Regions from separate parts of the Homo sapiens genome. Here all the other regions are linked to region 4. Evidence: promoter capture Hi-C in 16 types of primary human blood cells and fetal thymus (Javierre and others, 2016). All regions are on one chromosome and are shown on one strand. Each heading gives the region's core, a stretch centred on a gene start or on the middle of the fragment in contact. The rest is flanking DNA. Distances are from core to core; before and after follow the strand shown. Region 1 holds the start of AANAT (aralkylamine N-acetyltransferase). Region 2 overlaps UBE2O (ubiquitin conjugating enzyme E2 O). Region 3 overlaps UBE2O (ubiquitin conjugating enzyme E2 O). Region 4 holds the start of EXOC7 (exocyst complex component 7).

What was found. The method cuts DNA at HindIII sites, captures the fragments that hold promoters and counts their contacts. A CHiCAGO score of 5 or more calls a contact.
Region 1: a fragment that was not itself captured here is called in contact with the fragment with the promoter of EXOC7 in region 4 in 1 of 17 cell types (naive B cells); the score reaches 5.5 in naive B cells.
Region 2: a fragment that was not itself captured here is called in contact with the fragment with the promoter of EXOC7 in region 4 in 6 of 17 cell types (activated CD4 T cells, M0 macrophages, M1 macrophages and 3 more); the score reaches 6.4 in activated CD4 T cells.
Region 3: a fragment that was not itself captured here is called in contact with the fragment with the promoter of EXOC7 in region 4 in 4 of 17 cell types (activated CD4 T cells, M1 macrophages, M2 macrophages and 1 more); the score reaches 6.5 in activated CD4 T cells.

The regions. Positions count from the first base shown.
Region 1 is chr17:76,464,062-76,467,719 of GRCh38, forward strand. It overlaps AANAT (aralkylamine N-acetyltransferase), which reads left to right and starts at 3,542. Exons shown (of 4, transcript NM_001088.3): 1 at 3,542-3,658. The HindIII fragment of the contact is 3,070 bases long and covers 1-2,812 here.
Region 2 is chr17:76,394,743-76,398,641 of GRCh38, forward strand. It overlaps UBE2O (ubiquitin conjugating enzyme E2 O), which reads right to left. Exons shown (of 18, transcript NM_022066.4): 11 at 3,730-3,842; 12 at 3,513-3,641; 13 at 3,057-3,146; 14 at 1,386-2,079; 15 at 983-1,119. Among named protein-coding and RNA genes, the nearest start is that of SPHK1, 12 kb to the left of the region's middle. The HindIII fragment of the contact is 6,073 bases long and covers 1-3,899 here.
Region 3 is chr17:76,442,923-76,446,757 of GRCh38, forward strand. All of the region lies in intron 1 of UBE2O (ubiquitin conjugating enzyme E2 O), which reads right to left. Among named protein-coding and RNA genes, the nearest start is that of UBE2O, 8.3 kb to the right of the region's middle. RefSeq lists enhancers at 71-190, 1,865-2,024. The HindIII fragment of the contact is 3,138 bases long and covers 104-3,241 here.
Region 4 is chr17:76,102,518-76,106,461 of GRCh38, forward strand. It overlaps EXOC7 (exocyst complex component 7), which reads right to left and starts at 1,270. Exons shown (of 19, transcript NM_001013839.4): 1 at 1,116-1,270; 2 at 844-909. The coding sequence starts at 1,175. The HindIII fragment of the contact is 3,319 bases long and covers 1-2,041 here.

The DNA of each region.
Region 1 (3,658 bases), core at 28-2,527, 360 kb after region 4:
TGGGTGCGGTGGCTCACGCCTGTAATCCCAACACTTTAGGAGGCTGAGGCAGGTGGATCACCTGAGTTCAGGAGTTTGAGACCAGCCTGACCAATATGGCGAAAGCCCATCTCTAGGAAAAATAAAAAAAATTAGCCAGGCATGGTGGTGTGCGCCCGTAATCCCAGCTACTTGGGAGGCTAAGGCAGGAGAATTGCTTGAACCTGGGAGGCGGAGGTTGCAGTGAGCCGAGATTGTGCCATTGCACTCCAGCCTGGGCCACAGAGCAAGACTCTGTCTTAAAAAAAAAAAAAAAAAGAATATTCTGGAGTCTTGAAGTGGAAGCCCAGTCACAGACCATGATTTTCATGGGACCGAAGAGCCTTTTGGGAGAAAACTGAACCCCATCTGGCATTTGAAATGTGTAAATCTGTCTGGGAGATCGAAAGAGGCCAGGCTGGGTGGAGAGACAGGGGGACCCCTGAGGGGAGCCATCATGGGTGAGGCAGGGTGGCATGGTACACACTGGGCAGGGAGTCGCGGTGGGTGAGTTGTGGATACAGGACTTTCAAGGGAGCTGCTGCTGGAGGGAGAGGCTGGGAACAAAGAGCCTCGGCCTCCCAAAGTGCTGGGATTACAGGCATGAGCCACGACGTCAAGCCATTTCTGTGGTTTACAGTCATCCAGTTTGTGTATCATCTGTTACAGCACCCCTGGGAAACATACAGATGCCAGCTTCTCCCTGTCTGTATCTATATATTTTTTTTTTTTGAGATAGCAGTTTCACTCTTTTTGCCCAGGCTGGAGTACAATGGCACGATCTTGGCTCACTGCAACCTCTGCTTCCTGGGTTCAAGCAATTCTCCTGCCTCAGCCTCCCAAGTGGCTGGGATTACAAGCGCCCACCACCACACCTGGCTGATTTTTTGTATTTTTAGTAGAGACGGAGTTTCACCATATTGGCCAGGCTGGTCTCGAACTCTTGACCTCAGGTGATCCACCCGCCTCAGCCTCCCAAAGTGCTGGGATTACAGGCATGAGCCACCGTGCCCGGCCTTGCCCATCAGGTTAGGTGTTTATCAGCTGTCTAGAGTGACTGAACAGGTACGACTTGGGGGGCAAAGGACACATTCTCCCCCCCATCCCCAAGATCCACCTGAGAGGCAGTCACCAGAGGCGTTGCCAGCACTCTTAACTGCAATAGCAGGACAAGACTGGGCATCTGATAAACAGTGCAATCGGTGTCCCTGGCGTGAGGATGATCTCGGAGGTGCTTCTTTTTTAGAGCCCACCTGAGGTCAGGATTTTTTTTTTTTTTTTTGAGACAACATCTTGCTCAGTTACCCAGGCTGGAGTGCAGTGGCTCATCACTGCAGCCTGAACCACCTAGGCTCAAGTGATCTTCCCACCTCAGCCTCCCAAGTAGCTGGGGCTACAGGTGTGTGCCACCATGCTTGGCTGATTTTTAAATTTTTTGTAGAGACAGGGGTCTTGCTATGTTGCCCAGGCTGGTCTCAAACTCCTGGGCTCAAGTGATCCTCCTGCCTTGGCCTCCCAAAGTGCTGGGATTACAGGTGTGAGCCACTATGCCCAGCCCCAGGGATCTCCTTCTCTCTGTACCCATCACCCTGTTGGGCCCCTCACCCTCCTTATTTTCCTTCTCATTGGTGGTGGTATGTGGTTTTCTTCCTGTTGACCAGGACAAAGGTCCCAGCGATCACCCTGCCCTCCCCTGTCTCCTCTCCTGTCCCACAAGGGTTTGAACTTCCCAGTTTCACCATGTTTAACATACCGCCTCATCTTTAAAAAAAATTTATTTTTATTTGTATTTTTTTGAGACAGGGTCTCGCTCTGTCGCCCAGGCTGGAGTGCAGTGGCGAGTCACTACAGCCTCGACCTCTCCGGCTCAAGCCATCCTCCCGTCTCTGTCTCCCAAAGTGCTGGGATTACAGCGGTGAGCCACTGTGCCTGGCTTACTGCCTCATCTTGTTCCCTGAGGTTCTAGACCTCTAGGGTGTTGTCCGGAAAGAACAGGGCCATGTGGAAGTCAGCAAAGAGAGAGGCCGATTGAACAGCAGGCTCTTCTCAGGCATCGCCAAGTGACTGATTAGGATTGGCCACCAGGGGGTGCCATGGAGCCACAGTCTATGAAGGGACAGAAGAGGCCTTTTGGGGGACCCTGGAGGTTGAAGGTGGGGATGCCCAGCTGAGGTCTTGGACATGACCACCCCACCAACCAAGCCCAAGGAGGTCTCTGGTCGGTCCTGAGAGGTCTGTTGAGGGTCCCTTCTAGCAGGCAGGTGGGCCTCAGAGTGCAGAGGGGCCCTGGGAGAAGGGGACCCAGAGACAGGAGGAATGCATGTGGTGGGTGGGCGGGGGCATCGGGACGGGGTCACTCCACGGTCAGGGGCTGTGTCCCAAACCGTATGGGTAGGAACAGGAGCTTCCTCTGCGGGGGGGTCGAAAGAGTGCACCTGTGAGGACACTGAAAACCAGCAGGAGAATCATGAAGACAGGAAACAGGAGTCTCATTGTGAGATGAGTGGGTCCCACCAGTGCAGCCGTGGCAGTGCATGTCAGGAGGCTGACCCGGCTTTGCCCCTCCCCCTTCACTTGTTGGATGGCTCTGAGCAGGTTACTGAACCTGTCTGTGCCTCGGTTTCCTTCTCTATAACGTGGTTAATACTCATTTGGCCGGGCTTCCGTGTGGATTAAAGGAGACGCGTATCCAGGGCCCGGCACATAGCAAGTGCTGTAAGCAGTGGCACTCACAGGCTGCCAGGACAGGAAGGACCCTCAGAGGTCCGTCCCAAGCTGTGTGGGTAGGAGCAGAAGCTTCCTCTGCAGGGGGTCAAAAGAGTGCACCTGTGAAATCCAACCTCCAGGACCCCCAGGAGCCCGAGATGGACACAGGATCTGCACTGCTGGGTGGGGCGGAGAGGCAGGTGCTGGCGAGAGAAGAGCTAAGGGGTGCAGGATGGGGTGTGAGCTGGAGGGCAGGGGGTAGTCAGAGCCAACAGGGAGAGGGGCCTGCATCCCGAGGGAATGCCAGCACCAAGTGCCAAGGCCTGGGCAGCCCTGGGAATGGGTGGAGCCAAGGTCAATAGCAGAGAGCTTTGTAGTTGAGATGTTTGGTAGGGCAACCTCCTGAATATTTAAATATTTAATTAAATTAAATATTTAAATAAACTTGAAGTAGAACGTACTTAAAGTGCACAAATTGGTAGCTTGAATTCCCACCCCCTCCCCCCACATAAGAGGTGGGCTTGTCCAAGACTCCGAGGGACAGAGGGAGAATCGCTGGTGCCCAGCCAGTCGGTGACAGAGCAGGGATTAGAGATGGACCCCTGAGGCTTAGCCCCACGCTCTCTTCCCCAAACCCTGGGGCCTCAGTCAGCCTCTGGTAATCCCTTCTGTGCCCAGGGCACCAGAGCTGACGTTTCCCTTCAGCAAGGCAGGGGCCGAGGCTGCCAGAGCCCTGCTGGCGTCATCCTGCCTGGGATAGCTCGAGAGGTGGGGTGGGGGGATTACAAACCTCTAACAGCACCACAGGCTGCCCGGGGAACATCTGCTACTACAGCCTTGCAGCCCGGAGTCCCGGATTTTACTGGTTCCCGTGCCTGCGGACAGGCCCCCAGGGCTAGCGGCTTTGTGGAGGGAACACTGGGTATCCTCTCCA
Region 2 (3,899 bases), core at 199-2,698, 290 kb after region 4:
GGGGAGAAAGGGAAGTGAGGTCTGGTCAAAGGCAACTTTAGCTCTTCCATTTCCACTCAAAGGATCTGTAATGTTCTAATTTTTCAAAAAGAAAAGTAGGCTTGAGGAGTAATCATAATATAATTAATTTCAAAGTAATTTTTTTTTTTTTGAGATGAAGTCTCGCTCTGTTGCCCAGGCTGGAGTGCAATGGTGCGATCTTGGCTCACTACAACCTCTGCCTCCCAGGTTCAAGTGATTCTCCTGCCTCAGTCTCCCGAGTAGCTGGGATTACTGGCACCCGCCACCACATCCGGCTAATTTTTGTATTTTTAGTAGAGACAGGGTTTCACCGGGTTGGTCAGGCTGGTCTCAAACTTCTGACCTCAGGTGATCCACCTGCCTCGGCTTCCCGAAGTGCTGGGATTACAGTCGTGAGCCACCGCACCCGGCCTATTTCAAAGTAATTTTTTTTTTTGAGACAGAATCTCGCTCTGTCACCCAGGCTGGAGTGCAGTGGCGTGATCTCGGCTCACTGCAAGCTCCACCTCCCAGGTTCACGCCATTCTCCTGCCTCAGCCTCCAGAGTAGCTGGGACTACAGGCGCCCGCATGGTGGCGGGAGAGTTTTTTGTAATTTTTTTTTTTTTTTTAGTGGAGACGGGGTTTCACTGTGTTAGCCAGGATGGTCTCGATCTCCTGACCTCGTGATCCACCCACCTCGGCCTCCCAAAGTGCTGGGATTACGGGTGTGAGCCACTGCGCCCGGCCGAGAAAGTAATTTTTTAAAGGAGGGAGGAAAGAAAGAACCATCTGGCCTGGACACACGGCTGAGTCAGCCCTCACCTGACTGAGCCTGTGACCGCCCCTGTAAAAGGTGGGTGGGTGAGTGTCCTCGCAGGTGCCAGTCAGCCCCGGAGGTTTGGGGACCCAAGGTTGGTGGCCTCTTGGGCACTGGGTGCCCACACAGCACATCTGCACCTGCCCATGCCAAGCCTACTTGCCATTCTATCTTCAAAAGTCTTGACCATGATGCCCTCAGGCAGTGAGGTAGCCAGCAGCGCCATCTCCTTCCGCACTGTGCTGAAGAACTTCTTGGCTTCTGGAGGCTGGAACTCAATTTTCTTAAAAGAATGATTTGCTAGAGGGGGGAAGAGAATAGTCAGTCCCTCATGGAGAGGCCCTGGAGCTCCATCTGCCAACCTGGCTGGACAGGTGAGCACACCCACAGACTTCCCACTCGCCGCTGCTGGCCTCAGCACTGTGACCACACAGGGAAATGGTTTGCCCTGGGGCAGTAGCTGGGGTCTGGCGAGGGGACTAACCACCCTGCACCCAGATCTGGTGACACAAACAGGAGCCCCGAGAAGGCGGGGGAAGGCGAAGACCAGGCAAGGGCTGACTCACAGGGTGCAAACTCCAGTACGGAGAAGACCTCGCCCTTGGCGCTGGTGAAGGTGACGCCAGGCTTGCCGCCACACTGCTGGCACAGCACCGGGGTTTCGCTGGGCCACTCAGCCTTCACAGGTGACTGCCCCTCGGGCTTGTCCTCCTTGCGCTCTACGTCGGGCACTGCTTCCATCTTCTCCTCCTCTACAATGGCCACATTGTCCAGGGTCTTCTTGAGGTTTTCCTGTAGCTTCTTGATGTCATCCAGAAACTTCTTCTCCCGAGTTGGCTTCTCAGGCTCCACAGTCGGAGAGGTGGGCGAGCCCGTCAGCAGCTGCTCCACAGTCATGTTCTTGAGGCTCTCCAGGATCTTGATGGCCTCTTTCAACTCCCGGAAGCTCTTGGGTGGCCCGTCCTTGCCAGCCTTCTCCATCAGCCCGGCCATGGGGGCAGCCATGGCCACAGCCCCCTGGACGGCAGCTGTGGCTGCCTCTTCACTGATCACCACTCCCTTGTCCTCAGGGGCCACCGGCTGCTCCAGGGGTGGGATGGGGGGCTCCTCTATCTTGGGGTGCTCGTCCTCCACCAGCCCATTGTCCGTCTCCCAGCTGTCACTATCATCTTCCCATTCATCCGAGGATGCCCCGCTGGTGCTGCCTTCTACCGAATCGTAGTCTGACTCCTCAATCTCAGACTCTATGTTGTACAAGTGCTGGGGGCAGAAGGGAAGTGCCAGGGTAAGCAGACAGGAAGTCACCTCCCCACCACTAAGGAGGAGCTCTGGGGATCCCTGATCCGCACAGCTGATGGCGACTGGGCTCATGAGGCCTTGGCAACCTCATTCCACCCTTTCCCTGACCTCTGCTCTGGCTTTTGCAGTCCCTAGGTCTCTGGGAGAGGCCCTTCACCTGTCCCACCCTCCAGCTGGACCCAAAGCCCCAGCCAGTGGTCTGTTCCAGCCTCTCCTCCTGCTCTGTGCACTTCGTCAGCATCTGTCCAAGGCGTTAGGGGACCTTGGCAGGCCCAGTCCCACACCTGAAAAGCGCAGGGTCAGCTAATGATGCAGCCAAGGAGGCCTGTGTGGGGAGCTGGGAACATATGACAAGAGGGGACATGTAGAAGGGCCGACATATCCTGCTGCGTTCCCTGGAATGGCCGTTAAGGTGATGGGGCAAGCCATTCCCGCCCCCACTCCTGCCCCCTGTGTGGACCAGGAGAGGAGAGCTGGGCTGTGTGGCTCCAACCAGGAGGCGAGGGAAGGAGAGCCCGTGTAGCCCTTCTGCTCAGGACCCAGCAGGTGGGGCTAGAACTGGGTCGGCTCTCTCCTTTCTCTCCTTCTCTGTTAGAGCTTTCTAAAAAGGGTGGTAGGAAAGTCTCCATCTCCTTTTAGGAGGGAACTTGCATTCTTCGTAGCATAGTGAGCTGACAATCCAGGAAAATCCTGGAGGTTTGTGAAAGTCTACATGCACCCAGAGATGGACGTGAAGAGATTGCTGGGAGAAGCGAGGCTGGTGGGCCAACTGCAGGCCTGCACCAAGGGCTGTGTGGAATGCCTGCCTTTCCCCTCACGCTTTCGCTGAGATCTCACCAGGAAGACCTGAGAGCCCATCTTCTGGCTACACGCCTGTGGCCCCCGGCCCAAGTTGCCATAGTCACAAGCTCAGCAGGGGGGTCTTGCCAGAGCCTCACCTGGGGCAGGATGATGGTCTTTGAGTTGTCAGCCCACACCACCTCCACCTTGCTGCTGACGTCCACACGGGCCACCTGGCCCACCGATGGCTGCTGGGCAAAGGGGACAAAGTCAGGGGGCCCAGCTCAAGCTCCAGCTCCCCAGCCCCTCCTGTGCTCTGCAGTGACTGACATCATGCCCACCTGGCTTGTGACAAGGAACTTAGCTCCTCTGGTAAATGTAACCAGCGGCAGCTCAAGAAGCCTGACCCCAGAAGGGAGGCAGGGAAACAAGTCCTTCTGCAGCTGCTAGTGCTGAGCGGCAGCTTGACTCTGGGGCAGCTGCCCTTCTGAGGACACTGAGCCCAGAGGACTTTCAGGTCTTGTCTCCTAGAGCCACCTGGTGGCAGCATCAGGGACTGCAGCTGGTGCACAGGGCAGTGAGCAGCCATCCAGAACTTGAATTTGAAGGCGTACCTCATCCTCCTTGTGAGGAGCCCCATCCTCAGTATTGCCGATGCGGATGACGATGTCAGTTGTACGGAACCTAAAGTCAGGGTGGTCAGCAATGTCGTAAACACTCACATCTTCCTCTTCTCCAATCAGCTGTGGCACAGGACAGGTTGTCATGAGCTAGGGGTCCTACACCCAACCCCAGAGCCCACCTGAAGCAAGCAGTAGGGGCTGCACACACCTCCACGTCGTCCCCACTCGGCCTCAGCTTGAACCACTTCACCATGCAGGTACGGCCGATGTGGTCCCCAGACTGTACCACACCGTAGACAGCAGGGTCTGGACAGCTCTGGACTAGGGAACCAGAGAAAGGGAAGTGACTAGCTAAGGGATCCCGGCTAAGGAGCCCAC
Region 3 (3,835 bases), core at 423-2,922, 340 kb after region 4:
CAGGATGCAAGAGGCCTCTCAAAGAACTGATGACAAGTTAGAATGAGGGCCAAAGAAGGTAAATTAAAAATGACCCCAAATGCTCTAATTTTGAGAAGATTCAAGCTTAGGTATTTAGGGGTGAAGTGCTATCATGTCTGCCACTAACTTAGCAGGAGTTAGTACCAGACATAATTCAGGAGGAAATATATTTACATAAGCATACAGATAAGGCAAATATGGCAGGATGTTAACAACTGCTGACTCATAATGGTTGGGGGTTAGCAATTACTGGCTTTCAACATTTTGGTATGGTCAATATTTTTTCCTATTAAAAAGTTGGGTCTTGGGTTCAGAACCAAAAACAAAAAAAGTTGGGGAATATATATATATATTTTTTTCCTCGAGAAAGAGTCTCACTCTGTCGCCCAGGCTGGAGTGCCGGGGCACGATCTCGGCTCACTGCAACCTCTGCCTCCTGGGTTCAAGCAATTCTCCTGCCCTAGCCTCCCGAGTAGCTGGGATCACAGGCACCCACCACCACGCATGGCTAATTTTTGCATTTTTAGTAGAGATGGGGTTTCACCATGTTGGCCAGGCTGGTCTCGAACTCCTGACCTCAAGTGATCCACCCACCTCGGCCTCCCAAAATGCTGGGATTACAGGCGTGAGCCACTGTGCCCAGTCAGAACATTTTTTTTTTTTTTAAGTCCACAGACTTGGGGATGGGAAGGGCAGTCACAATCACAAGATTTTATACCCACAAAGTCTACATGGCACAATGGAGCTATCAAGTAAGCAGCTGGGCATGTGATGTCACTGTGGAAGTCACCTAAATACAGGTACCAGATGCAGCTACAAGCAGGGAGGTCACTCCAAAAAACTGGGGAGGAAGAGATAAAGAAAAGAGAGGTCTTTGGAAAAGCTGCACATCTATGGGTAAGAGGAAGAAGACAAAAGGCAAAAAAGAGAAACATTTGGTATAGTCTGGTATAATAGAACCCCAAGGAAGGAAATACCGTTAAGAGGGCATGGTCGGCCAGGCGCGGTAGCTCATGCCTGTAATCCCAGCACTTTGGGAAGCTGAGGCGGATGGATCACCTGAGGTCAAGAGTTCGAGACCAGCCTGACCAATATGGTGAAACCCCGTCTCTGCTAAAAAGACAAATATTACTCGGACGTGGTGGCGGGAGCCTGTAATCCCAGCTACTTGGGAGGCTGAGGCAGGAGAATCGCTAGAACCCAGAAGGCAGAGGTTGCAGTGAGCCAAGGTTGCACCACTGCACTCCAGCCTGGGCGACAGACTGAGACTCCATCTCACAAACAAAGCAAAACAAAACAAAACAAAACAAAGAGGGTGTGGTCAGCTAGGCACCGTGGCTCACGTCTGTAATCCCAACACTTTGGGAAGCTGAAGTGGGAGGATCACTTGGGGTCAGGAGTTCGAGACCAGCCTGGCCAATACCATGGTGAGACCCTGTTTCTACAAAAATATTTTAAAAAGCCGAGTGTGTAGTTCCAGCTGCACAGGAGGCTGAGGTGGGAGCACTGCTTGAGCCCAGGAGGCGGAGGCTGCAGTAAGGTGTGATCACGCCACTGCATTCCAGCCTGGGTGACAGAGCATAAGGCTGATGGATCAAAATGAGGACAAGGACTGAGAAAATGTCAGCAAATGCAGTGATCAGAAATTCACTAGTCATTTGTGACCTTCAGGGGAGCCGTCACACTCAGTGGTGTGAGAGGTTAGACAGAAAATGACTGAAGGCGAGAGCAGGTCATGAGGAAATGGAGGCAGACATCCATTTCCCCCAGTACAGTGCTGGGATGACCCAAAAGCACACTGGGGGACCAGAGAAATGCTTTCTTCCTTGGCTTGAAGATGATGTCATCAACCTTCAGGGCCCTCAGAATCCCTTAAATAATAAAACAGTCAGAGCACATGAATACCGGGATGCTTTCAGCACTGCATATGTCAAGCCCTGAGGCTCCCAGAATCCCTGGAGACGTATTTGTGTGTCTACACTTCCCACCTGCACTAGCGGTGACCACACACACAGTCCGGTGACCACACACACAGTCCGCTGAATCTGCCGGTCAAGGTATCTATCTTCAACTGCCCTCTTCCAGAGGGAGCTCCCACAAAAAGGACCAGAATTAAAAGGAGGAGGAAGAACATCATCGGAGCTGCTGAGTGTGAAAAGACCAGCTCTCTTGCAGGATGCAAATGAAGGCCTCTCTTTTTAAGGGTGCCTGCAGGAAATCTCTCTGTCAGTGCTAGCTGGGAATATTCATGTCATTGTTGGGTAGGACTGACTGCCTTTTTTTTTTTCTTTTTCCAAGCATGACTCAGTGTTTTAATTTTTTTTTTTACTTTCAATTATCATAGTCAGACTGTTTCCCAGGTATAGTTATGCTATCAATTTAAACCAAAAGTGACCTGAAAAATGTCTTACTCCTTTGACTTAGCTGCAGAATATTAAATATTGCTGTGGCCTCTCTAAAAATGCAAACCAACTCAAAATCCCCCAACCAAAGAACCAGATTAAACCCAAAAAGGACATTCATTCCAATCCTTATTGCCCACTGAATACTTCTGAGTGGTATGTCAACTGACTGCAATGTTTAAACCATAAAAATGTGCTTTTCACAATACTGCTTCAGGAGAACACAGCCTACCTGTGTCTAGGGGTGACCTGGACAAAGCTGACCCAAGGATCCATCCAATACAGTCAGCCTGGATTGAAGGACATTAAATCCTCAATCACAGAGTATAGCTAACGAATGAAACAAAGGCAAATAACTTGGAGTAGATAAATCCAGAGAGTTATCCAGTAACACAATTCAATTTTATTCTCAACTACAGCAAATTCCAATAAGCATTTTGCTCTTCCCTGGCTATAACTGCACACATCAAGTGGCTCCTGACAGAGTCCCCCCGTGGCTGGCTGGAATGTCAGAAGATGAAGCAATTCCGAACGGGCACTCTTGCTCAGTAAGAGCTGCAAATGTGGATGGGCAGCATTTAGACCATGACCTTCTCCAGGACTGGCACCCATTCATGGGCAAGTGGAGCCTCAGGAAGGAGCTACAGTTAAAAATACCGAGATCCTATTAAGTGAGAAAAGTGATAGCCTCTTGTAAACTGGAAAGCACATTATAGACGTTCCTGATTGTAACTTGCCCCTTTTGATTGTCATTTTAAATCAGCAACTCCCCATCGCCATCCAGAAGCAGGCTAAGCCTTGGGCAAGGAAATTCCAAAAGCTTCCATCAGAATAGGAGCACAGATCATATCCTCCTGGGTGAAAACCCACATGTCACAGAAAACCACCCTGACTCCAACTCTGAGGGGACCGACCACCAGCGGCAGCTGACACTGATCACGTGCCCAGGACTGTTGTGCTGGCAATTCATGTTATACACGACAATTGCACCCTTTTAAAAAGTGCTGGCCCCCAACAGGTTCCACTGGATTCCATGAGCCCCCATGGTGGGTTAAGTAGTAAAAAATAGAAAAAGTTCCTCTTAGTATAACAGGAAAATGAAAAAACAAAAACAAACAAAAAAAAAAACCAAACAAACAAAACAGAGAGAAACAGGGATAAAAGTGAAGTAGAGATGGGGAAGGTGCAAAGAGGCCTCTAATGTCCTAAAGCAAAAACACACGGAAACTGAAGGGAACAGAAACTGAAATTGAGGTGGAACTCAGCCTCTCCAAGGAATCCTTCCTGAACCTGTCTCATGACTCAGCATTCCCAGCCGAAGGATGACAGCAGCAGAGCGGACAGGAGGTCAAGTTGGAGCTCCTAATGGAGCTGACCACTTCTGAGGCAACACAGAAATGCCAGTTACGTGG
Region 4 (3,944 bases), core at 20-2,519:
ACTGCCTGAGCCCAGGAGTTAGAGACTGCAGTGAGCTACAGTCATGCCACTGCACTCTAGCCTGCACAACACAGCCAGACTCTGCCTCTAAAAAAAAAAATTTAAAAATTAAAATTTTTAGAAAAGGACTAGGACTTTATTATTGTGTGACTAAATGCAAATACAAGTTTGTATTTACTCACTTTGTGCTTTTCCAGTCTCCCCTAGGAATAAAGAAGGAAACTCACTTATTGAGCACCTATTGTATACCAGGCACTGTGCAAGATGCAGTCGCATGCATTAGCGCATATGACCTTCACAGACACACTGGGAGGCTGGCACAGTCTCTGTTTTAGCAGATGAATTCGCTGACACCAGTTACCTATCAGGAGCCGCACATTTAAGCAGAAGGGCAAGGACTAGATCCCAGATCTGCCTGACTTTAGAGCTCTTTCTTTCCCTAAAGTCCTCTGGAGTGAAGGCTGAGTCTTCTCTGCCCTCAGGAATCTCAAAGTGCCAACCTCCTGGGCAGAGAGTCCACTGACAATGACATATGCCCAGTACCTAGCCCAACTGGTCAGACTCACTGAGTGTTTGCAGAAGGAGAGAAGGAAGAATGGCGAGCTTAGACAGAAAGCAGCAAGTCCAGGCCAGTGGGAAGTGCAGCCTCCTCAGTGAGGGTACGGAACATGGGGAGGGGGCTAGGCAGGAGAGATGCCAAACTGTTGCTAGATAAACCCACACACTGCCTCCGTCGCTGCCCATTCCAGAACTCCAGGCCGCAGGAACCGGAACCGCCAGGTCGCAAGGCTCTCCCCCAGGGTCCGGAGGCCTGCCCTCTCCCCCAGCTGCGGGGAGACTCACCATGTTCTTAGTGAGCTGGTCGCTCTTCTCCAGGCTGTCTCGGATGAAGGACAGAGTCTCCTCCTCCTGGGGGCAGGCAAGGGGAGGACATCACCAGAAACCAGAAGCTAAAGGAGACCACTGCGTCCCAACCCCACGGCCTAGCCCCCAACCCCATCTCCTCGCTGGGTGCGCTCCCTCCCACCCCTGCCTCCTCCATGAGTAGACAATCAGGCCCCGCTGTTGGCCCCTTTCCCTCACCTCCTCCCCAGCCTCCCCAGGCCCACGCCCACCTGCTTCAGCTTGTCCTCAATCTCCCGCCGTCGAGCGGATGCCTCCTGTGGGGGAATCATCGCTCTGAACCCCGCGGCTCCCACTCCCCAGTATCTTTCCTCCGCGGGCCCACCGGGCCCCCGTCCCCGTCACACCCACTTCCGCTCTTGGTCCCGCCCCGGGACGCCTGGGCGGAGCCATGTTGGGAATCGCAGGCTGAAGTGCGCCTGCGCGGAGCCCAAGAACGGACCGACGGCCATTTTGAGCGTGGCTGGGAAGAGAAGTGTATTCGGATGCTGCAAGGGACCTCGACGCGGGTTCCTTGCCTCAGCAGAGGTTTTCGATCGGCCTTATGTCCCGCGGCTGGCAGGACACTTAGAGCTCACTTGCTGTTTTCGTTGAAAGACCGACCCTTTTGATAAAGACTGCTGGGGAAGGCGACGAATTCCTTTCCCCAGGTCGCATTCTATGGGCAGGCACCAAGGCCAATTGCGTTTCCCACAAAGCCCCGCACGGAGCAGGTGACACAGTAGATGCCTAACGTGTGTCCATGTAATGAACCAGGGGCTTGTGTACTTGTTTCCGCCTTCCACCCTGCATTACGCAAAAACGTATCCTGTGGGCTGGCGGGGCTGCTCCGGAGCTCCAGGCCCAGACCCAGCGTCCAACTGCAGCTCCAGGGGACGGGGTGGGGGGCGCCCCTGGATCAACTTCCCTGCGGGGCTGGATGTTGTGGTTGCAGACCCAGCTCCTGCAAAACCTCGAGTTACTCCTTCCTCTAACCCGTCCCTGCCCACCCTGCCTCTGGCCCCCAGCCTTGAGAAAGGACAAGGCCGACCAGCTTGGTTCAGTCCTTCTGTGGCCTCAGTGTCCAGACACCCGGAAGATAGACAAGGAGGCATGTGCTGGTAGATGAGAAGGTTTGGGGCGGGCAGGGGGGACACCAAGCTTTTTTTTTCCTTTCTTTTCTTTTGAGAGAGAGTCTCACTCTGTCGCCCAGGCTGGAGTGCAAGTGGCACGATCTTGGCTCATTGCAGTCTCTGCCTCCCGGGTTCAAGTGATTCTCGTGCCTCAGCGTCCCGAGTAGCTGGGATTACAGGCGGCTGCCAACACGCCCGGCTAATTTTTTTGTATTATTAGTAGAGACAGGGTTTCGCCATGTTGCCCAGGCTAGTCTCGAACTCCTGACCTCAAGTGATCCACCCGCCTTGGCCTTCCAAAGTCCTGAGATTACAGGCGTGAGCCCCTGCTCCCGGCCTAAGGAGAGAAGGAGAGAAGGAAGAACCCAAGCTCTAGGGTTCCCAAGCGCTCACTCCACCCATAGTCACCCGAAGAGGAGGAGGAGGAGGAAGTGGGTGCACAGAGCCTGGAGAGGGATGGGCAGCCTTCCCTCAGGCAAGAGGACAATTTCAATCCTGTTGTAGGTGGGGGAGATAAAAGGCTGATTCCTGTGTCAGGAAATACCCAGGATGATTTCGCTGACATGGTCCTTGTGTAGTCCAAAGGGCTAAGTAGGAGAAAGTTTAAACTGTTAGATGTCACAGAATAGAGTAGCGGGGCTAGTTAGCCGCTGTAGAGAGGGTGTTTTGGGCTCAGGTGGACTACCTTTGAGGGCCTGGTCCAGCATTTAACCTGAGTCTCTCTCTCTCTCTCTTTTTTTTTTCTTGAGACGGAGTCTTGCTGTGTTGCCCAGGCTCGAGTGCAATGGCGTGATCTCGCCTCACTGCAACTTCTGCCTCCCGGGTTCAAGCGATTCTCCTGCCTCAGCCTCTCGAGTAGCTGGGATTACAGGCATGGGCCACCACCCTGGCTAATTTTGTATTTTTAGTAGAGATGGGGTTTCTCCATGTTGGTCAGGCTAGTCTTGAACTCCCAACCTCAGTTGATCCGCCCGCCTCGGCCTCCCAAAGTGCTGGGATTACAGGTGTGAGCCACCGTGCTTGGCCTGAGTCTCTAAACAGTTCCTGGCCCATAGTAGATGCTTAATAAAAATACTGATAATAAATATTTTGCTCCGGCCAGGTGTGGTGGCTCATGCCTGTAATCCCAGCACTTTGGGAGGCCGAGGCGGGTGGATCACGAGGTCAGGAGTTCGAGACCAGCCTGGCCAACATAGTGAAACCCCATCTCTACTAAAAATACAAAAATTAGCTGGGTGTGGTGGTGTGCACCTGTAGTCCCAGCTACTCGGGAGGCTGAGGCAGAATTGCTTGAACCCAGGAGGCAAAGGTTGCGGTGAGCCGAGATGGTGCCATTGCACTCCAGCCTGGGCAACAGAGCAAGACTCCATCTCAAGCAAAAAAAAAATTTTGTTTTTTTTTTGCTCCATAGGTCTTGGGAATCCTTTATGTGCGTGAGGAAGCTAATATTTTCAAATCTGTACAATGTCATTGCATTTTTGTCAATCAGCTGTGTGTGCTTTACTGCATTTCCTTCAGTGTCTGAGTCTAATGGGGTTAGATACCATTAGTACAATACCATGTACTGAGAGTCTTCTGTTTGCCTGTCTCTACTACAAACATTGCCCTTGCTAATGCTCCTCTAATCCTTATCATAAACCTGGGAGTCAGGCCCAGCTGTCGTCTCCCTTGTGCAGACGAGGAAGCTCCGGCTCAGAGAAGTCAGCTGTAGTAAGTCAACACAGCTGGCCAGCAAAGGGTGAGGCTCAGGCGGTCTCTTCTTTCTCCCCATGCTGGGCAGCTCAGGAGTGGTGTTTGTTATGCAAAGCTGCCAATCTGATTTTCAAAAAAATTCATTGTGAAAAGCATGTTGTATTCAAGACAACTATATTTACTAAGAGTAGACAGAATGAAAAAATGAATTTAAATTATTCTCAACCTATTATCAAC